Regions from separate parts of the Homo sapiens genome. Here all the other regions are linked to region 3. Evidence: promoter capture Hi-C in 16 types of primary human blood cells and fetal thymus (Javierre and others, 2016). All regions are on one chromosome and are shown on one strand. Each heading gives the region's core, a stretch centred on a gene start or on the middle of the fragment in contact. The rest is flanking DNA. Distances are from core to core; before and after follow the strand shown. Region 1 holds the start of DEDD2 (death effector domain containing 2). Region 2 holds the start of SDHAF1 (succinate dehydrogenase complex assembly factor 1). Region 3 holds the start of MBOAT7 (membrane bound acylglycerophosphatidylinositol O-acyltransferase MBOAT7). Region 4 holds the start of NFKBID (NFKB inhibitor delta). Region 5 holds the start of PAF1 (PAF1 component of Paf1/RNA polymerase II complex). Region 6 holds the start of ZNF428 (zinc finger protein 428).

What was found. Contacts are between HindIII fragments. The CHiCAGO score rates a contact against its expected background, and 5 or more counts as called.
Region 1: the fragment with the promoter of DEDD2 here is called in contact with a fragment that was not itself captured in region 3 in 1 of 17 cell types (activated CD4 T cells); the score reaches 9.2 in activated CD4 T cells.
Region 2: a contact is called between the fragment with the promoter of SDHAF1 here and a fragment that was not itself captured in region 3, in 1 of 17 cell types (fetal thymus). The highest score is 5.6, in fetal thymus.
Region 4: a contact is called between the fragment with the promoter of NFKBID here and a fragment that was not itself captured in region 3, in 1 of 17 cell types (fetal thymus). The highest score is 6.6, in fetal thymus.
Region 5: a contact is called between the fragment with the promoter of PAF1 here and a fragment that was not itself captured in region 3, in 3 of 17 cell types (fetal thymus, total B cells and naive CD4 T cells). The highest score is 18.2, in fetal thymus.
Region 6: the fragment with the promoter of ZNF428 here is called in contact with a fragment that was not itself captured in region 3 in 1 of 17 cell types (activated CD4 T cells); the score reaches 18.3 in activated CD4 T cells.

The regions. Positions count from the first base shown.
Region 1 is chr19:42,215,930-42,219,049 of GRCh38, reverse strand. DEDD2 (death effector domain containing 2) reads left to right here and starts at 1,373. Exons shown (of 5, transcript NM_133328.4): 1 at 1,373-1,418; 2 at 2,005-2,370. The coding sequence starts at 2,043. RefSeq lists enhancers at 1-137, 138-1,014 and silencers at 1,786-1,885, 1,896-1,955, 2,037-2,242. The HindIII fragment of the contact is 12,709 bases long and covers 1-3,120 here.
Region 2 is chr19:35,993,089-35,996,607 of GRCh38, reverse strand. It overlaps SDHAF1 (succinate dehydrogenase complex assembly factor 1), which reads right to left and starts at 1,420. Exons shown (of 1, transcript NM_001042631.3): 1 at 296-1,420. The coding sequence starts at 1,333. The coding sequence ends at 986. RefSeq lists silencers at 964-1,083, 1,114-1,173 and enhancers at 1,234-1,313, 1,574-1,623, 1,958-2,457. The HindIII fragment of the contact is 4,511 bases long and covers 275-3,519 here.
Region 3 is chr19:54,189,565-54,192,856 of GRCh38, reverse strand. It overlaps MBOAT7 (membrane bound acylglycerophosphatidylinositol O-acyltransferase MBOAT7), which reads left to right and starts at 3,277. Exons shown (of 8, transcript NM_024298.5): 1 at 3,277-3,292. It overlaps TSEN34 (tRNA splicing endonuclease subunit 34), which reads right to left and starts at 1,549. Exons shown (of 4, transcript NM_001077446.4): 1 at 1,250-1,549; 2 at 893-1,136; 3 at 484-741. The coding sequence starts at 1,492. RefSeq lists enhancers at 97-613, 2,582-3,263, 3,264-3,292 and a silencer at 1,458-1,659. The HindIII fragment of the contact is 1,746 bases long and covers 1,170-2,915 here.
Region 4 is chr19:35,898,325-35,901,805 of GRCh38, reverse strand. It overlaps NFKBID (NFKB inhibitor delta), which reads left to right and starts at 1,266. Exons shown (of 12, transcript NM_139239.5): 1 at 1,266-1,364; 2 at 2,984-3,087; 3 at 3,274-3,334. The coding sequence starts at 1,304. RefSeq lists a silencer at 1,233-1,382 and enhancers at 1,282-1,837, 1,743-1,992, 1,838-2,394, 2,407-2,978, 2,979-3,481. The HindIII fragment of the contact is 4,662 bases long and covers 1-3,032 here.
Region 5 is chr19:39,389,452-39,392,629 of GRCh38, reverse strand. PAF1 (PAF1 component of Paf1/RNA polymerase II complex) reads left to right here and starts at 1,524. Exons shown (of 14, transcript NM_019088.4): 1 at 1,524-1,812; 2 at 2,341-2,370; 3 at 2,469-2,561; 4 at 2,869-2,990; 5 at 3,084-3,150. The coding sequence starts at 1,766. MED29 (mediator complex subunit 29) reads right to left here and starts at 1,252. Exons shown (of 4, transcript NM_017592.4): 1 at 992-1,252; 2 at 108-166. The coding sequence starts at 1,207. It also overlaps a transcript of SAMD4B not described here. RefSeq lists an enhancer at 908-1,197 and a silencer at 2,735-2,866. The HindIII fragment of the contact is 958 bases long and covers 1,188-2,145 here.
Region 6 is chr19:43,617,900-43,621,030 of GRCh38, reverse strand. ZNF428 (zinc finger protein 428) reads left to right here and starts at 1,402. Exons shown (of 3, transcript NM_182498.4): 1 at 1,402-1,473. LOC105372411 (a long non-coding RNA gene) reads right to left here and starts at 1,970. Exons shown (of 4, transcript XR_001753942.2): 1 at 1,399-1,970. RefSeq lists a silencer at 1,349-1,588 and an enhancer at 1,393-2,043. The HindIII fragment of the contact is 4,307 bases long and covers 1-3,131 here.

The DNA.
Region 1 (3,120 bases), core at 124-2,623, about 12 Mb after region 3:
TGCAGGCGTGAGCCACCGCACCTGGCGTTTGTTTGTTTCTTGAGACAAAGTCTCGCCCTGTGGCCCAGGCTGGAGTGCAGTGGCACTATCTCTGCTTACTGCTCCCTGGTTCAAGAGATTCTCTTGTCTCAGCCTCCCAAGTAGTTGGGATTTCAGGCGCGTGCCACCACATCCGGCTAAGAACAGACAGGGTTTCATCATGTTGGCCAGGCTGGTCTCGAACTCCTGGCCTCGTGTGATCCGCCCACCTCGGCTTCTCAAAGTGCTGGGATTACAGACGTGAGCTACCGCGCGCAGCCGATTCTTTTGAATTCACTGCTACAGCTCAGGCAGAGCCAGTACTGGGCCAGTGCTAGGCAGGACCCAGATCTCCCGACTCCCAAGAGGAGTTAATTGCGGGGGTGGGAAGAGGTCCAGGGAGGGGACTTGTCTCAAGTACATGCAGGTCCTGACCTTGAGTCACCTAAGTGGGGGGCGTGGCGACCGTCACACCCAAGGCCCCGCGGTAAGGGGACACGCATACACCACAGCCTAGACTCCCTGACAGACCCTCTCTAGTTGTTGCAAGTTAGGGAGCGGGTATCTGGGCGACCCTGGAGGGCAGAGATTGGAAGGGGTTACGGAGGGGCCGTTTTGGCTCTGGGTGGAGACATCTGACTGTGATGGGGGTCGTGATGGACGCCATCGAGATGTACACAGTCGGAATGGAGGGTTCTGTTGCCGCTTGGAAGGAGGTATCCGTCCTGAACGTGAGATGAGGGAATTCTGGTTTTGATCAGGGGAAGGAACTTATAGACTGCGGGGGTGGTGGTGGGGGGGCGGGATTTCCATTTGGGATCACGAGAGAGCACAGTTGAGATGTAGATCCCTGGTTGTCACTAGAAGTGAGGGACAATCTAATGGAGGAGTGCCCAGGACCAGATCATATAAGGCCTGGGAGTTTACTGGGAGACGGGAAAGTAGTGATTGTGTTACTTTGCCACGGGCAACTAGGGGCAGTGGTGATGTGGGCGTCTAGCTCGTGATCAGGAGGGGGCTGTAGTTTATGAGATGAGTAGTTACAACTACTCGTGACGTGGCGCTACATGGCCCCGGTGGCTTGAGTCACGGGCAGGAAGTAGGGACCTGGAACCGGGTACCAGATACAGCCCAAGAGGCGGCGTGCTCTCGCTCTGCGCAAGCGCAGCACTCGCGAACCAAGATGCTTCGGTTGGGGGCAGGTCAAGCGGCCCAGGAAGGGCGGGGCTTGGAGGCCTCGTTCTGCGCATGCGCCGAAGGGGCGTGGCGGTCGCACCTGCGCGAGTTGGGGGAAGGAGGAGGGGCGAGGTGACGCAGGCGTAATAATAGAGAAGGTGCCAGAAAGATCCAAAACAAGTGGCTGCGGCCGTCGCCCAGGAGTCATCGGACGCCAGAATCTGGTGAGGATCCAGAGAGGCCTAATGGTGACTGGTGGCGGGTAGACAGGACCACCTGGGCTCTGGGGAGCGGGCGGGGCCGCCCTTGCAGGGCGAGGGGGTCGGGTTCGGACGGTACCACCTGTGTGGAGCAAAGGGGCTGCCTGGGTCGCTCCTCTGTGTAGGGGGCAGAGGGTCACTTTCGGGAGGTACCACTTGCGTAGAGCCGGGGGACTCATCAGACGGTACCGCTGGACGGAGAAAAGGGGCTCGTCTGGGCAGTCCTACCCAGAGTCAGGGGCAGTCAGCAGGGAGCCCCGGGGTGGGCCCCGAGGCTTGTTTGGGCCGCATCGTTTGGTCAGGTCCGGAGGCGAGCTCCGAACGTAGCACGGTGGTGGGGGCAGAAGCCGAGCGGGCTCCGGCGTCCCGACCTGTTCTTAGGGGACCTCGGGCGGGACCATTCCCTCCCGGGGGAGGGGGAGGCCGAGGCGGTTGGGGGTGCGGGAGCGGCCCTGCCCGGCGCGATTGGGCGGGGGAGACGCGCTGGCGGTGTGGGGTTCGGGCCTCCGCGTCGCTGACCACTGCCCCCTCCCCGCTGTGTGGGTTCTAGGCCGGGTTCTGAGCTTGTTCCGCCTCCCTCCCCCGGGAATGGCGCTATCCGGGTCGACCCCGGCCCCGTGCTGGGAGGAGGATGAGTGCCTGGACTACTACGGGATGCTGTCGCTTCACCGTATGTTCGAGGTGGTGGGCGGGCAACTGACCGAGTGCGAGCTGGAGCTCCTGGCCTTTCTGCTGGATGAGGCTCCTGGCGCCGCCGGAGGCTTAGCCCGGGCCCGCAGCGGCCTAGAGCTCCTGCTGGAGCTGGAGCGCCGCGGGCAGTGCGACGAGAGCAACCTGCGGCTGCTGGGGCAACTCCTGCGCGTGCTGGCCCGCCACGACCTGCTGCCGCACCTGGCGCGCAAGCGGCGCCGGCCAGGTACGGTTGAATGGGAGGGTGTCACACTTCCTGGGAGGAAAGGGCCTGGCTCCCGCTGGGCCTCCCTGGTGCCCTGATACGGACAGTGCCATATCAGGCAGCTTATGTCCCATTCTGCTACTCTCTCTTCCCACAATATCAATGAGCAACATAAGAGGAAGAAAGCATGGCTTTGGGAATTTGGCCACATCAGTGATGATGATTTTGGCCACTGTTTACGGAGGGCTTGTTTCATGCCAGGCACAGCTGTCAGCCCTTCATATGAACTAGTGCCTTATAGTCTCCCAGTAATCTCACAAGGAAGTCCTGTTACTGTCTTCACTGTAACCAAGAAAATAACAAGTTCAGAGAAGTTAAGCAGTTTGCACGTATAATAACAATCCTGTTTGCTGGGCCTAGGAGGGATACAGGATGATGGAGCTGACAAGGTGTTTGTTCCATGAAGTTTAAGTTTAGTGGGGGCAATCAGATAATAAGAGAACTTATTTTTAGACGCTGTTGTAGGAAGACTAAAAGTAATGGAATAGAGAGAGTCAGGAGAGCAGCAAGGTGAAGGGAGGCTTTGCCCTGAGGCTGCACTGCCAGCCATGCATAGACCCCAGGGGAGAAAATCCCAGGGAGCATCCAAGGCCTGAGGTGGGAATGAGTTTGGCATCATCAGAGGCCAGTGTGGCAGGAGCAGAGGGGACCCAAGCTAGGGAAGAGAGGGAGGTAAGAAGTTATGTCATGAAGGGGCTTGCAGAGAACGTA
Region 2 (3,519 bases), core at 171-2,670, about 18 Mb after region 3:
TCTTCCACACAAAGATGTTAAATCACTTGCCCTCCATTAGGGAGCCAACTGGGGTATCTTTGGGGGTTAAGCCAGGATGAGCCCCCTCCACAGATCTGCCCAGGGGAGAAAACTATGCCGCTTCAATCAATGTGCCAGTCTACAGGGCTCCGGAAGGAGTCAGATCCCCACACCTATCACCTCCCAGATGGTCCCTTCCAGGTGTCTGTGTGCGTGTGTGTGTGGTGGCAGGGGGGCTGGGGGTGTTTCAAAAATCCTGAAATATATAAAAGCTTTAAGACCACCAACAGGGAAGTAGACATATCCCCAATTTTATTCCCTTTGTCCAACATTCCGAGAGGGAAGGGGCAAATGAGTCAATGTTGCCCCTCAAAACCATCAAGTAGGGGCCTTTGGGGGTCTTCAGTTGATCAACCAGGGTGATAGACCCCTACCCCTTCCTCATGGTCCTGGCTTGTCACAATTAATGGGGGAAAGTTTTCCAGAAGGGGATTCCGGGCTTCTCACCGCTCATCAGGGCACCTTCCCAAAACGTTCTCAGCAAAAAGTCTGCACTTCTCAGAGTTAAATACAGGAGAGGGGAGACTCCTTGAGGAGCCAGAAGTGGGTATGTTCTCAGGGGTCAAGAGAAGGGCGTCTCAGGCTCTCCCTGTCCACCGGGGGTCGTCCTGGCTCCCCGTACCTTCGGGCAAGTAGCTCTTGGCTTGACACTGTCCAGCCCGCCAGCGTCCCAGGCCGCCCCAAGCCCTCATGGGGGAGGAGCACCGACCTGTCTCCAAGCATCGGAAAAGGCGGGCCTCCCTTGCCGTCCATCACGGGGCTCTCTAGGCCCCCTGCGTCGCCAAGGAGGAGTCTCTGACATCCCCAATTCGTCAAGCTAGTCTCTTAAGACCTCTCACCTTAGGCGGGTTCCCCAGTCCCCCCATGCAGTCAGGCGAGCCTCCTGGCTCCACCACGCCATCGAGCGAGTTCGGCTCTTCGCCTGTCACCGTCCGTCGGGGCGGGTCTCCGGTGCCCCCGTGCTGTCGTGGGGGTTCCTTGGACTGTCGCCGTCGTCAGGCTGGCAACCCACGCCGCCAGGCTCCCCGGTCGGGGCCCGCGGGCGTACGAAGGCGCCCATGGCGGTGGCGTGGCCCGAGCGTAGCAGCTGCAGCTGGCGCCGCCCGCGGCGGTACAGGTACTCGATGCGCAGCACGTCGGACCGCGGCAGGCCCGCATGCTGCCGGAACTCTGCCCGCACTCGCGCCTCGGCGCCCGGCTTCCCACGCCCGGCGCGCAGCAGATCGCGGTACAGGCTCAGAACCTGCCTCTGCAGCCGGCTGTGCCGGCTCATGACCGCGGCTAAGCAGAGACGCTCAGCGAACGACCTGCGAACCGCGGAGCCGCCACACAGCCAGCAAAGGCCAAAGGGCAAAGCCACAGCCACTTCCGCCCAGCGCTTCCCTTGGCCTCCAACTCCCGCCTCCCGCCATCCGGCGCTGCCGCGTCTGACTGGCTGTCGTTGCAGTTACGTAACAGCCGGCTGGGAGAAGTGGGCGGAGTCGCTGGTCGCGGCCTCCCACGTAGGGGACGTGTGTTCTTGAGGGGACAGCAGTTCTGGGGATCCTGGCACCGCCTGGAGGGCGTTATGTGTTCGGACTCCTAGGTCTTGGGTTGGAGGGAACAGAGGGTCCTCACCTAACTCCTGCATTCTGGGAGAAGAGGAAGCTAGGGGTTTTTTTGTGTGTGACGGGGTCTCGCTGTCGCCCAGGCTGGAGTGCAGTGGCGCGATCTTGGCTCACTGCAGCCTCGAACTCCTGGGCCCAAGCGATCCTCCCACCTCAACTCCCCTAGTAGCTGGAACCACAGACGCGCGCAACCGCGCCCGCTATTTATTTATTTATTTATTTATTTATTTATTTATTTATTATTATTATTATTTGCAGAGATGGGTCTCCCTATGTTGCCCAGAATGGCTCGAACTCCTGGGCTCAAACGATTCTCAGCCTCCCAAAGTGTTGGGATTCCAGGCGTGAGCCACCGCGCCCGGCTACCGGTTCGGACTTTGGGTCCCAAGGGCACGGGGCACTGGGAGAGACGCCGGGCACAAGCGTGCTTTTGCCGTCAGTTACTGATTCAAACCATCTTGGGAAGCTCCGTGCGTTCCCTCGTCCGGGGCAGGTCTGTGTCTGGGGTCCCAGCCCTGGGCACGTGCAGAGGGACGAGACCCCGTAGGGAAATGGCTCTCGGCCGGTTGGACAGGCTTCTCGGGCCAGGGGAAGACAAGCAGAGAGAGTGTGGGCGCCAAGCCCCCAGAGGCAGCGTGTGGCTCTAGGAGCTGGGTTGGTCGCGCCCTCTGCGGGTGGGAGTCGGGGCAGTGGACAGCGGTGTTTGGGTCCTTACCGACTGTTAAAGCCCGGAGTCCGGGACACCCTGAACAGTCGACTAGACTGCAACCCCGTTGTCCTCCCAGGAGCTTTAGGTGGTAGGCCGCAATGCCGTTGTTGTCCCCGCGGGCCGCCTGGAGGTGTCCTCGTAGCGCTAGGGAGGCCCGCAAGGACACAGCATCCTCGGGCCCCACCAGCACCGGAGCTTGGGGGACCCCTCCACCCAGCGCGCAACCGCGGCTCTGCACACTTGGGCCGGCAACCAGCTGGGGGGTCCATTCCCCTTCAGAGAGGAGAAGCTGGTCAGGGGCGGGGATTAGGCTTGGAGTCTTGGAGTCAGGGGAGAATCACAAACCACTGTGAATCCTGCCTGGCAGGTGTATGTATCTATCAAAAATACATGTCCTAGAACGGTGGCTCACACCTGTAATTCCAGCACTTTTGGAGGCCGAGGCGGGCGGACCACCTGAGGTCGGGAGATCGACACCAGCCTGATCCACATGGTGAAACTTCTGCCTCTAGGTTCAAGTGATTCTCCCTACCTCAGCCTCCCCAGTAGCTGGAATTACAGGTATGTGCCAGCACACTGGGCTAATTTTTGTATTTTTAGTAGAGGCGGGGTTTCACCATATTGGTGAAACTACAGCCTTGATCTCCTGGGATCAAGCAATCCTCTCGCCTCAACATGTCCAGTGGTTAGGATTACGTGAACATCCCACCACACCCGGCTAATTCTTCTTTTATTGTTTTTTGTAGAGACAGAGTCTCGCTGTGTTGCCCAGGCTTCACTCTGGAATTTTAAATATTTATTTTTTGTTTTGTTTTTAGAGACAGGGTCTTGCTATGTGGCCCAGATTGGTCTTGAACTCCGGCCTCATCCTCCCAAGTAGCTGGGATAATAGGGATGAGCCACCATGCTGGCTTGTACTCTGGAATTTAAACATCTATCTTTTTCCTGTCAAATGACCCTTAATCTCCAAGACAACTATGTCAATCAGCCTAGGGGGACTTTCTTTACTTTCCAGTGGACTCAAGGAGCTGCAAAACCTCAAAGGGAATACTATTGCCTCCTGCCCAGGGCCTGTCAATGGTTTTCTGGTTACAGTCTCTCAGTTTGTCTTTGGGGAACTGGCCCACTCTTATTCTAGGGGAT
Region 3 (3,292 bases), core at 793-3,292:
GTTTTAGTATTTTTAGTAGAGATGGGGTTTCACCATGTTGGCCAGACTGGTATCAAACTCCTGACCTCAGGTGATCCACCTGTCTTGGCCTCCCAAAGTGTTGGGATTACAGGCGTGAGCCATTGCGCCCAGCCTGATGTCTAACTACTTCTAAGTGAATCTTCTGGATCACAGTAATCATTTAATAAAAGTCGTTAAACTGCTTGCCCAATGAGTTCGGGAGCTCCCAAATGTTTCCTGTCTGTCTATGAATTTCAGAGGCTAAGAGAAAGTGAGACAAAAAAGAAAAATGCAGCTGGGCCTATAATTCCAGCACTTTGGGGGGCCGAGGTGGAAGGATTGCTTGAGCCCAGGAATAGGGACCAGCCTAAGCAACAAGAGACCCCACCTCTATTAAGACAAAAAAAAAAAAAAAGAAAAACGCAGAATACATTGGGATCGTATGGAAAGGCACAGCAACCAGAGGCCCCAACCCATACTCACCAGGATAGACCAGGAAGTCACCTCCGAACTTGCCAGCCGCACTGAGGAAGAAGCCTCGCTCCCACAGGTCTCTGTAGATACTGTAGCGCAGCTCGTGGGCAGGGCGGCCGGCGTGGGGCCAGTCTTTAGACTGGACACGCCAGTCCAGGGGCCTGGCCTTGACCGGTCGAGGCCTGGCAGTGGCCAGCTGGACAAGGAGAGCAGATCTGGGCAAGGGGGCTACCCCATTTGAGGGTCCTGCTTGGGAAGACGAGGGGCCTGGTGGGGAGTACAGAGAAGAGTTTGGTAAATTCAAGGGGTAAAGTCTTCTCACCCTCAGGGAGACCCAGGCACTGGATTCCCAGCTAAAATTCCTAAAAGATCTCTCCTCTCCTTCCCGTGGTCCCTGGACTCCACCTCCCATGCTCACCAGCTTCCTCCTGCTCTCCCGAAGCCTGGCCATCACTGGTCTCATCCTCTTTGGCAGCCTGGCTCGAGCCGGCCTCCTGGCTTGAGCTGGCCCCTGAAGCCTGTTCTAGTTTCTGCTTCTTAGCAGCCTGGCCCTCCGTAATCTTCTCCAGGAGCTCCTGACGACGGGTCTCCCGGGCCTCAGCTGCCAAGGCGCTCTGCTCCTGGAAGCTCTCCTCTTGCTGGCGCTTGAAGGATGTCAGGGCCTGAGAAGCACACTTCGCTGGAACCTCCAAGCTTATGGTCCCTTCAGAAGCCAGGAAACTTGACTCCCAGGTCCCGCTCCCACCGAACCCGAGTTCGAGCCCCGCCCCCTTACCAGGCTGTGGTGCCGAGAGTCTGGACGCGGGGCGCTGACCAGAGTCACGGCGCCGATCTCGGCCAAGAGCCGCGCCTCTTCGGGCATCAGCAGCAGCGGGAGGCCCAGGCGCGAGTTCTGGCGGGGCCCGCGGGGCAGGGCGCCTACCGTGCGGCCCCCCACACCCAGGCGCTCCCGGAGGGCCTGCACCGCCTCGGCTCCCCACACCAGGGAGCGGCCGTTCGCCACCTCCACCACCAGCATCCTCCTGCGGGAGCCGGGAGGCAAAGCAGTTACCGAAACAGCTGCGCGCCGCGGACCGCTGCAGCGCACCCAAAGCCTCCGGGGTCTCGGCGAAGCCCCGCCCCTAGGCCTCAGGGGGCGGGGCCTCGCTCAGCCGCCGTTCACCACCTGCTGGGCCCGAGCGCCAGGCCCCGCCCCCGGGCGATCCCACCAGGCCTCGCGGCCGCCGGAGACGAGACGCCGGAGACAAGCCCCCGACCCTCTCCCCTCGCCAAGCCCCCAGGGTCCCGCTCTACCCTTGTGACCCTGCGGTCGGCACCCGCTCTGTGCCCGCACTGCCGTACCTACCATTGCGCCTTGGAGCGTGAAAAACAAACCTCCGCAAGCGCGGCGACACGCCCCCTTACAAAGGTCCATTTTGGCACCACCCTCTTGCAAAGTGGGCGTCCCCCTTCGGGTGTTCCCGTCAGCGGTCAGAAGCTCTGGAGGCTAAGGCACCGCCGAGGCCACACCCTCTTCCGGACGCTCGAGCCTTCGCTCCTCCTCTTTCCGAACGACTGTGATTCGGCTTTCGGACCTCCTCGCTCTCAGACTCCCACAGTACAAAACCCTGCCCCCTCCCGAGCACAGGAAGTTCGGCGTTCGGGCGTCCTCGGCTCCACCGAATCCGCAGCCCCGCCCCCTTCTCGAACGCCAGCAATTTGACGTTCGGGTGTTCTCGGCTCGGCCGAATCCGTAGCCCCGCCTCCTCCCGGACGCAATAGGTTCGGCGTTCGGGCGTCATCGGCTCCCGGCAGCCTCGCGGCCTGTGGCCCCGCCCCCTCCGAGCGCCAGCGCACCCCAGTTGGGGAGTTCCCGCCCTACGACCGAACCCCACAGCCGAAAGCCCCGCCCCCTGGACACCCGCCGTCCACTCTCCGCTCGGGCGGGCTCACCCCAATTGGGAGCGCTCAGTCCGCCTCCTTGCCTCCCTTCAGAATGTCCCACTGTCCACCGATAGAACCAGCGAGTCACCTCATAAACAGTAATTCGCAGTCGAGGTGGAGCCACCCACTGCGCACCGCGCCACGCGCTCCTTGCTCCACCCCCTCATGCCGACACCCTCGTCAACTTCGTCATCCCGCCCCATCAGCGCCGCGGGAAGTCAGGTCCCGCCCCTCGCAGGACCGAAGCCCCGCCCTCCTCCCGCGGGGGCCACCTTGGCTCCGCCCCACTGAGCGCACCTCCCTCTGCCGCTTCCTCTCCTCTACTTGGGAACTTGAGGATCGTCATCCTGGCCCGGTCCCGTAGGCGCACGCCGGCCCTCGGGGTTCCGCCCCTTTGAGGGCAAGTCGCTTTCGCCCCGCCCCCTTGTAAATACTCATGGGTGTCTGGCGAACCTGTTGACTCCGCCTATCATCCTAGCGTCACTTGTACCCAACTATCTACGAAGTAAACCGAAGCTTGTGGCCCCACCCACATCCGGCCGAGTCTGTGGCCCCGCCCACATCGGAACAGTGACCCTAAGGACTCGACTACCTCCGAAGAAAGCCGAAACATGTGGCTCCGCCCACAGTGGCCTCAGCTCTCCGTTCTCGACTATTGCCGAAGTGAGCCGAAGTTTGTGGCCCCGCTTCCGGAGAACTCAAGCTCCCGATTGTGCCCGAAGGAACCCGAAGGGAGACCCCGCCTCATTCCTCACGCCGAGCTCCAGACCCCGCCTCCTTTCCAGAGCCCGTCTGTTCCCCTTCGGGTCCAAAGCTTTTGGCTCCTCCTTGTTCCGAGCCCGAAGGCCCGCCCCTTCACGTACTCGGAGCTCGGATCCCAGTGTGGACCTGGACT
Region 4 (3,481 bases), core at 17-2,516, about 18 Mb after region 3:
GGGGATCACCTGAGATCAGGAGTTCAAGCCAATATGGTGAAACCCCGTCTCTACAAAAATACAAAAATTACCCGGGCATGGTGTCAGGCTCCTGTAATCCCAGCTACTTGGGAGACTGAGGCAAGTGGAGGTTGCAGTGAGCCGAGATCTCACCACTTTGCCACTGCACTCCAGCCTGGGCGACAGAATGAGACCCTCTCTCTAACAATAAAAATGTAATAATAAAATAAAATAGAAAAGCAAGCAAGCAGGGGAGAAATAGGGCCAACATGGTCAGTGCTGTGAAAGGTCACCAAGTGAAACTGAGAGTGGCCTCCCACTGGAATGCCAGCTCCAGGGCTGGGAATTCCTGCCTGCTTAGTTCACAATACACAGCAAAATGCCTCCTCTGCTGCAATAAATTATTTTAAATGATGAATGAGTAAATGAAACCAGACCTCTAAAAAGGGTGATGTAGGGGAGAGGGAGAAATTGAGCCACACCCTATACCCTTACCCACAGACCCTTCCTCTGGGAGTCTAGACCCCCAGTCCTGCCTCCCTCTGGACCCAGTAATATTCTCCCTGCCCCCACCCCATCTCCATCCCCACTCCTACCCCTACCCCCATGGGCAGGACCCAGGAGACAAAGCCTCCAGCACCCCCTTAGACACAGACCCAGAAATCCAGGCCCCAGCCAGGCACCATGGCTCAAGCCTGTAATCCCAGCACTTTGGGAGGCCAAGGCAGGCGGGTCACCTGAGGCCAGGAGTTCGAGACCAGCCTGGCCAACACGGTGAAACCCCATCTCTCCTAAAAATACAAAAATTAGCCAGGCATGGTGTCCAGCACCTGTAGTGTCAGCTACTCGGGAGGCTGAGGCAGGAGAATCGCTTTAATTCAGGAGGCGGAGTTTGCAGAGATCGCACCATTGCACTCCAGCCTGGGCGACAGAGACTCCTTCTCAAAAACAACAACAAAAAAAAAAAAAAAAAAAAAAGAAAAGAAAAAAAAGAAAAAGAAAAGAAAAGAAATCCAGGCCCCCCGGTTTCTCCCTCCTCTTGGAGCCCGGTGCCCTAGGCTCCTTCAGAGCAAAGATCTGGACCCCAGCTCCCTCCTTCCCGGGGGGACTGAGTAGTCCGCCTCCCAAGTCCGCCGCGCCCATTCAGGGACTGCGTTCGCCGGAGCGCGACCCGGGGACTCCCAGGCCTGTGGGCGGGCCCTGCCCAGGACTGGGCGGTGCCATAACCCCTAGTTTAAAAACTCGCGGGTACCGGACCCAAGATCGGGGACCCGGCGGCGGCTCCGCGGGGGAAACAGCGAGGCTGGCGCAGCGCCGAGGCCGCGGCCCTGGGGGCCCGCAATCCACGCCACGGAATCCCCGAGGTAATGGGCGCGGGCAGGACGCGTTCGGCCCCCTAAGAGAGTGAGGGACTGAGGATCGAAAGACTCCCGAGGCCCTGAGGGACGGAGCTGAAGCGTCAGTCCTTTATCCCGAGAGTGAGGGCCCTAGGTGTTTGGAGGAGGAGGGGATCGTGGATCGTGACAGAGGGGCGGCTGGGATCCCAGACTTCTGGGTCCTGGGGGTGCAGGGGCCTGGGGATCCAGGATCGCAGGGCCCCGAGGGTGCAAGGGCTGGGAGGCTTGGGAGGCTGGATCTCTGGGTCCTTGGAGGTGCTAGGGGTTGCTGGCAACCGAGACTCCTACCCCTAGAAGCAGGGACTAGGCTGAGTGCGGGGGGGGGGGGGGGGGGCGTGGTTGCTTAAAATCGGCGTGGGTCTCGGTGGGGAAGGGTCCGGAGCCTGGCCTCAGGGTCTACGCTGGCGGTGACCCTGCCTCTGCCCCGCCCTGGGATTTCCGGATGGCCACCCGTGCGGGGCTGAGCAGGAATTCCCCTTGCGCGGGGATTCCACGAGCGCCACGATCGGCCGCGCGCCCCGCCTCGGAGCAGGACACCTGGGGCACAGGACTTGGGGGGAAGGGGAGGATGGAAGATTCCCTTGCGTGAGCGCCGTGGCGTCAGCGCGCCGCGTCGGGGCTGTTTCCGAGCCACCTCCTCCCGCCCCCGCCCCGCGCAATCCCCACTTAACCCTTCCTCCGCCGGAACCCAGGCTCGGAAGGGTGAGGGTTCTGTCTTTCTGAGTCGTGGGAAGGAGTTTGGGAACTGGGGCTCCCAGGTCCTAGAGAGGAAGGAACTGAGGGTCCAGATTCCTGGGGCCTGAAAAAGAGACTGTATGGATGGGCCTTTTTTTTTTTTTTTTTTTTTTTTTAATGGAGTCTCTCTCTGTCGCCCAGGCTGGAGTGCAGTAGCGCGATCTCCGCTTACTGCAACCTCAACCTCCGCCTCCCGGGTTCAAGTGTTTCCCCTGCCTCACCTGGGATATACAGCCGCCTGCCACCACGCCCGGCTAATTTTTATATTTTTAGTAGAGACGGGGTTTCACCATGTTGGCCACCTGACCTCAGGTGATCCGCCCCCCTTGGCCTCTCAAAGTGTTGGGATTACAGGCGTGAGCCACCGCTCCCGGCCCGGGGTGAGGCCTTTGACTTCTCGAGGAGGGGCGCTGGGGACTCCTGATTTCCGGGTCAGGTTCTAGGGAAAAAAATGTTGGGAACCTGGATGTGAGTCTAGGGAGTGACGCCTGGCGCCGGCCCCCCACCAACCCGCTGACTTCAAAACTTGGATATCTGGGGGTGGAATTTTTTTACGGAAGTGGGGTGGTTGCTGCAGAGGGGTGCCCTCCTCCCCCTTCCTCACTTTCCGCGACGGTGGTGGAAAGTTGGGTCAGAGGGAAAGTGCGGAGCAAAAGGAAGGAAACGGCGGAGGCGGATGCCCCACCCCAAATCTTCTAATGGCTTTGGAGGAGTCAGGCGGCATCTATGTGCCAGTTTTTCCGCGCGGGAGGGCGAGGAGGGTGCCCAAACCCACTCCCCGCGCGCCACCCCCGCGGCATTTAGGTGACTTAAGGACCCTTGATGACTTCCCCCTCTCCTCTCCCGCACAGTGAGCAGGGGTGAGCGCAGCCACTGCCCAACGCAAACCGTGAAGAAGCTTCTGGAAGAGCAGAGGCGCCGCCAGCAGCAGCAGCCCGACGCTGGCGGGGTGCAGGTGAGGCCAGGGAGCCACAGCTCTCCGGAGGCCCCGTGCTGTCCCGTAGGGACTCAGCGGCTTGCCGGGCCCTCGGGGCTGATGAGAGGGGTGGTCCTGACCGAAATGTCTTATAGATCCGAGACAGACCCGGAGGAATCTGCCAGATAAAGTCACCTGGGTTCCTTTTTGCTTTTGTCTCTACAGGGACAATTTCTCCCTCCCCCAGAGCAGCCCCTGACCCCATCTGTGAATGAGGCTGTGACTGGTAAGTTCTCTCAGCTCCCGGCCTCCCCATCCCCCTTCCCTAAGGGACTCAGACATCGCAGCTCTCAGAACTTTGGGACACCTGGGAGTCAGGCCCTCATTCTTCCCTTTTTTTTTTTTTTCTGAGACAGGATCTCACTCTGTTGCC
Region 5 (3,178 bases), core at 275-2,774, about 15 Mb after region 3:
AAAAAGTAAATATAGAAGGTGAGGTGGGCGGGGAGCAGGAGAAGGAAAGATGAATTTCAAAGACTGGGAAGGCAATAGAATATCCTGGTAAAGGGGGCTGCACTCACTGTCCATTGTCGATGTTAGTGTTCTGAATCAAGTTTTGGGCCGCAACCTTCATCAAGGTCTAGTCAAAACAAAAACAAAACACGTGGGAAATGGAAAAACAAAAGGGAATACCTCTGGCAGATCTACACTCTTTCTTGAGATCACTCAGTCTCAGGTTTTCTTTTCAACTGGCACCTTCCCTCCTGACTTTCCAAAGTAATATTCGTTTCCATTCCTATAGCTGTCACCACTCCATCCTCCCAGAGGCCCGCTCTCACCTGAGCTTCTCGCCAATAACCTAAGGGTCCTCCCTCACCTATCAATCAAGGGCAGAATCTCCGTATAAGCCAGTACTCTCCTCAGGCTTTAACGACCAGAGCCCAGTTTCTCCTTTAAACAACCCCTCACTCAAGCTCCGGCCAGTCCCAGCCTCAGCATCAGCGCTGATCCCATCTCTGCCGAGCTTCGCTTAGGTCTCGCAGAAAACAACAGTTTTATTTATTTATTTATTTATTTTTTTGACGGAGTCTCGCTCTGTTGCCCAGGCTGGAGTGCAATGGCACGATGTCGGCTCACTGCAACCTCCGCCTCCTGGGTTCAAGCGATTCTCCTGCCTCAGCTTCCCGAGTAGCTGTAATTACAGGCGCGCGCCACCATGCCCGGCTAATTTTTGTATTTTTAGTAGAGACGAGGTTTCACCAGGCTGGTCTTGAACTCCTGACCTCAAGTGATCCGCCCGCCTCGGCCTCCCAAAGTGCTGGGAACACAGGCGTGCACCAGCCAGGCCAAAACAGCAGGTTCTATTCCTCTTTCTGCTTAGCGCTCTCTCCGACTAACCTGGCCCTCGGCCTGCCCCTCTAGACTACCAAATCCAGTTTGCTTCTCGCTGCTTAAGGCCAATCACCTGTAGACTCTCCTTCAGCTGCGGGATGAGCATCTTATAACGCTGCACAGGATCGAAGTCCTGTTGCTGTTGCTGCAGGAGGCCGCTCTGGGCAGGGCCCACCAGTTGTGCTGGCGGTTGCGGCTGCTGCTGGGGACCCGGGCCGCCAGCCGAACTAGGACCCGATACACCAGCAGCTGAGGAAGCCGCTGAAGCTTGCTGCTGGGATGCAGCCATCTTCCTCGCGTAGACCGCCGGAAGTGCGTTACGACTGCGTCTCTCCCCGTTGCTTTTCAGCATCCCTATTTCTAGTCCCCGTTTGCTAGTTAGTCCCGCCCCCTAGGCAATTAAGCCAATGGAGGGGAAGGAGGTGCCCCAACGTTACGTCACTCTCAAATCTGCGTCCAGACTGAGATATCTCTCCACCAATCACAGAAGCACCTCTCTCCCTCGCTCCGCCCTTCACCCAGACGCTCGCCAATCCGTGTGTGGTTCCGAGCCGGACTTCATTTCCCCGAAGGCGTCGCGGCCTGAGGAGACCCGTTGGGTCCTCAGCGTCTTGGCGGCAGTTGGTGGAACCGGAGCTTCGAGTCCGTCCCCGGTGCTGCCTGCGCGTTCACCTGAGTCTCGCTGGAGCTCTTCTCGCCCGCCCACCTCATCTCAACCCACTTTCCGCGGGGAGCGGCGCCAAGCTGGGCCTTCCTCGGATCAGGCGTCCCCTGAAGTCGGCACGCCCCTCTGCGTCCCCCTTCGGTCCCGCTAGGACCCCGTCCGGGCTGCCGTCGCCTCGTCGCTATGGCGCCCACCATCCAGACCCAGGCCCAGCGGGAGGATGGCCACAGGTAGGCGCCACGCTTTTCTGTTGCAGCAAGGCGGGGGATCGGGAGAGGGTTTCTGCTGAACAACGTCACCAGCCCCCAGGTCTGCCCGTGACGTCATGAAGCGCTCACCTTTGACGAAGGGGGCGGGTTCCTTCTGAGATTCAGGTGTTCCCCTCCTCCCCGCCGTGCAGTTCAGGGATTAGGCTTTTGGAGACTCCCTCCAGAAGGGATCCCTCCAGTCAACCGTTTGGAGACCCCTCTTCCGAAGACGATTGAGTACATGGTTCTTTATTAAAGCACTTGAAGCCATCTCCTGCAAAAGGGATTGAGCACTTGGCCTTGTTCATTAAAGCTTTTGGGGGCATTTCTTCCTAAATAAATTGAACATTTGTCTCCTTCCATTAAAGCATTTGGACACTCCCCACACCACCACCCAAAGAAACCAGCATTTGTCACCCCTCCTACCTTTTGAAAGGTTGGGGAAGCCTTTTTCATTCTCCTGTCAATCCCGTCCTCTCCACCTATCACTGTTTCTTTCTTCTCCACTAGGCCCAATTCCCACCGGACTCTGCCTGAGAGGTGAGCCCCACTGTGCTTTCCCAGGAGCGGTGGGGCAGTGGGGCTGGGAGCAGAGGTGGGGCAGCGGGGGCCCACTTTTGAGCCACTAATGTTCCTAGGTCTGGAGTGGTCTGCCGAGTCAAGTACTGCAATAGCCTCCCTGATATCCCCTTCGACCCCAAGTTCATCACCTACCCCTTCGACCAGAACAGGTGAGACTAAGGAATGGGAAAACTACTCAGGTATGAGTTCCTTGAAGGCAGGGACTGCTTGTCTCGTTGGCTGCTGTCTGCTCAGGGCCTAGCACAGTACCTACCCTAGCACATAGTAGTAGCTGCTCAATTGTTAATGGAGCAAGCAGTGTCCAAGTCCCTTCCCACTGGGGAGCCAGCTTTCAGACTCTGCCATGGGGGACACTTCATTCTGAGTTCCTCCCCAGAGAAGCTCCGCCTCTGGGAAGCAGGGCTGTGAGGGGTGAAGCTGGAATCCAAACACCACAATAGGTGTTTCCCCACCCAGGTTCGTCCAGTACAAAGCCACTTCCTTGGAGAAACAGCACAAACATGACCTCCTGACTGAGCCAGACCTGGGGGTCACCATCGATCTCATCAATCCTGACACCTACCGCATCGACCCCAATGGTGTGTGGGGAGACAGGGAGGGTCTGCTCTAGGTCAGCAAAGGCTCAGGCCTGGGCCTCCCTCATGGTCCTCCTGCCCCCCGCTCTCCTCTAGTTCTTCTAGATCCAGCTGATGAGAAACTTTTGGAAGAGGAGATTCAGGCCCCCACCAGCTCCAAGAGGTGAGTGGGTAGCAAATGGGTACTGGAG
Region 6 (3,131 bases), core at 153-2,652, about 11 Mb after region 3:
AGTTACAACCACCACCAACTCATGGCCAATCCCGATTTATCCATAACTCCAGTCAAATGTGTAAGTGCTATTATGGAGAGATCAGGAAAAGCCTCTCAGATTGACATCTGTACCAAGATATGAATGGTGAGCACAAGAGTAGGTATTCAAAGGTCAGAGGGAAAAGCATTTTCAGGCGGAGGGAACGGCAAGAGCAGAGGCCCGAGCTGGTAAAGAGTTTGGGGTAAGGTGGAGCTGGACAGAAATGGAGGGAGGAGGAAGTAGGTGGGGTCAGAAAGATAAGCACGGCCAGACCAGGTGTATAGCCCTGAGGCCATGATAAAGATTTTTGGATTTTTTTTTTTTCCTAATGGGATCCCTTTGGGGGAGTTTTAAGCCAGAATGTGACAAAGTCACTTACAGGAAGACTGGAATGTAGCCATAGTTGAACTCTAACATCGTCTATAGAACCATTTCCCGTCTCCAGTTAGGTTCTAGGCATACTAAGCTGCTCTTGCTTCCTCAATCAAAACATGCGCTTCTATTTTTTTTTTTTTTTTTTTGGCCTCTGGGCCTTGGCGCTTGCAGTTCATTCTGCCAGACCCATTCCCATTCTAGTTGGCTCCTATTCGTACTTGGCTTAAGGATCACCACCTCCTGGAAGTCTTTCTAGAACCAGAGGCCGGGGCAAGCGCCTCTTAGGCTCCCACAGCCCCCTGTGTTCCTCACTCCAGGTCTGACCTTCTGGGTAGTAGTTGTCTAATTAGGTGCGTATCTCCTTCGACTGGGGTGCCGTGAGTACAGGAGTATGGTTCACTGCAGAAACCACAGAATCCGCCAGCATGGGGCCTGACACCTAGGAGATCAATAAACCTTTATCCTGGTTGGGAGGGGTCCTGGCCCTCGTGCCCTCTCTCAGGATGCAAACTGATCCCCTACGAAGACAAGGCTACCCACTTCGCGTCAGTCTGCAGTCCCTGCGCGCATGCGCTTTGCTCAGGTTGCCCCCGCCATATGCTAATCACTGCGCTCTGGAGTAAGGCCCCTCCGGGGAATATGCAAATCACTCCTTCCAGTGCGGGAGGCCTTTCATTGTCCCGCGCTAGGATTATGCAAATAAGCAGGCCTCGGGCCCAGGATCCAGTCCGAACTAGCGCCCTCCACCCCCAGCGCATCCCAGTTTTGTAAGGCGCGTTCCTGCCCCGCACACGCACGCGCGAACCCTTCAGCTTCTTGTTCCTTTGGGCCGCGGGCTGTACCAAGTAAACCCAGGCAGCGAGGGGCAAAGCACGGCGCCCCCCGCGCGGGTCTCGTCGACGGCCCGACGCGCATAGCCCCTCTTCCCACAGCGCTACAGGACTAGTCCGTCTCGCCGCGCAAGCGCCCTAGGCTCTTCACGCCCCCTGCGCGCTGTCCTACCCTACTTGCGACGCAGGCGCAGAGGCTGGGCGTGCAGCCGCCGCCGCAGAGCCGGAGCGGGGGCCGCCGGCGCCGGTGAGTGTCCCGGGCAGGGGTGCGCGAGGCATGCCGGGAAGCGGGCGCTACGGCCCCGCTGCATGATGGGAGCGACGACTCCCGTCACCGGGGAGCCGGCGGTCTGGGGCCGTGGTGACCCGAGGGCTTCTTTTTCTCCCCCTACGCGTTTGTGCCGCCCTGGGGCATCCTGGGAGAACCGAGCGCTCCGCCTTGAAGCGCTGTGGGAGTCGGTCCGCTAGTCGTAGGCCTGGTGCATCCTGGGAAAGAGTGTCCCAGATCCTTGTCGAGACCGGTTCCTTTTATCCCACACCTGCCGCTGACCGTCCTGGAGGCTTGGAGCGCTTCCACACGGGGAGTCTGGGAAGGTGGTCGCTATAGGCCTAAGGCATCCTGGGAAGAACTGCCACAACGAATTGTGGGAACTGGCCGTTATTGTCCCGTAGTGGAAGGTTTTGCCCTGGTCTCTTTGCTCGAGCATTGGAACGGGTGCCTATTGTGTTCACGCGGGGCATCTTGGGAATTGACTGCTATAGGCCCAGGGCATTGTGGGGTCTCCAGCACTGTGTTTGCCTTTCAGTTTGGCTGCCATAGGCGTGGTAGGAGTGGGACTTGTGAACCAAGGGATGGCCCTACCTGACGTCTGGAATACTCTGGAAGGGGCCTTGTGTGACGTGGGCTTGGAAAAGTGTAGGCTGATGGGCATTGTCTCCTGGTAACTTCAGGGAATGTCTTGATTGTCCCAGGTGTGTGGTTGCCGTATAAAATATACAATGTCTAGTTAAATTTGAATTTCAGATAAACAATTATATCCAAAAGATACAACCTTTTAGAAAAGTATGTCCCAAATATCACATGGAACATAGCTATATTAATTCTTTGGGCTAGTTGCAGTGATACCAATACTTTGGGAGGCTAAGGCAGGAGGATCGCTTGAGACCAGGAGTTCAAGACCAGCCTGGGCAATATAGTGAGACCCCCGTCTCTACAAAAAAAAAAAAAAAAAAAAAAAGTAAAAATTAAGCCTGGCATGGTGGCGCATACCTGTAGTCCCAGCTGCTCTCCTAGGGGCTAGTAGGGTACCTTGAGCACAGGAGTTTGAGGTTACAGTGAGCTAACCTCCCAACCTGGTTATGGGGGAGTACATGAGTTAAGGCCTGGAAGCCCCTTTCCTACAGATCACCCTACTGCACTCCAGCCTGGGCAACTGAGCGAGACCCTGTCTCTTAAAAAATATAAATAAGTAGGCTGGGCGCGGTGGCTCACGCCTGTAATCCCAGCACTTTGGGAGGCCGAGGCGGGTGGATCACGAGGTCAGGAGATCGAGATCATCCTGGCTAACACGGTGAAACCCCATCTCTACTAAAAATACAAAAAATAGTCGGGCGTGGTGGCAGGCGCCTGTAGTCCCAGCTACTCGGAAGGCTGAGGCAGGAGAATGGCGTGAACCCAGGAGGCGGAGCTTGCAGTGAGCCGAGATCGTGCCACTGCACTCCAGCCTGGGCGACAGAGCAAGACTCCGTCTCAAAAAAAAAAAAAAAAAAAAAAAAAAAGCCGGGCATGGTGGCACGCGCCTGTAGTCCCAGCTACTTGGGAGGCTGGGGCAGGATAATCGCTTGAACCCAGGAGGCAGAGGTTGCAGTGAGCCGAGATCGCGCTACTGCGCTCCAACCTGGGCG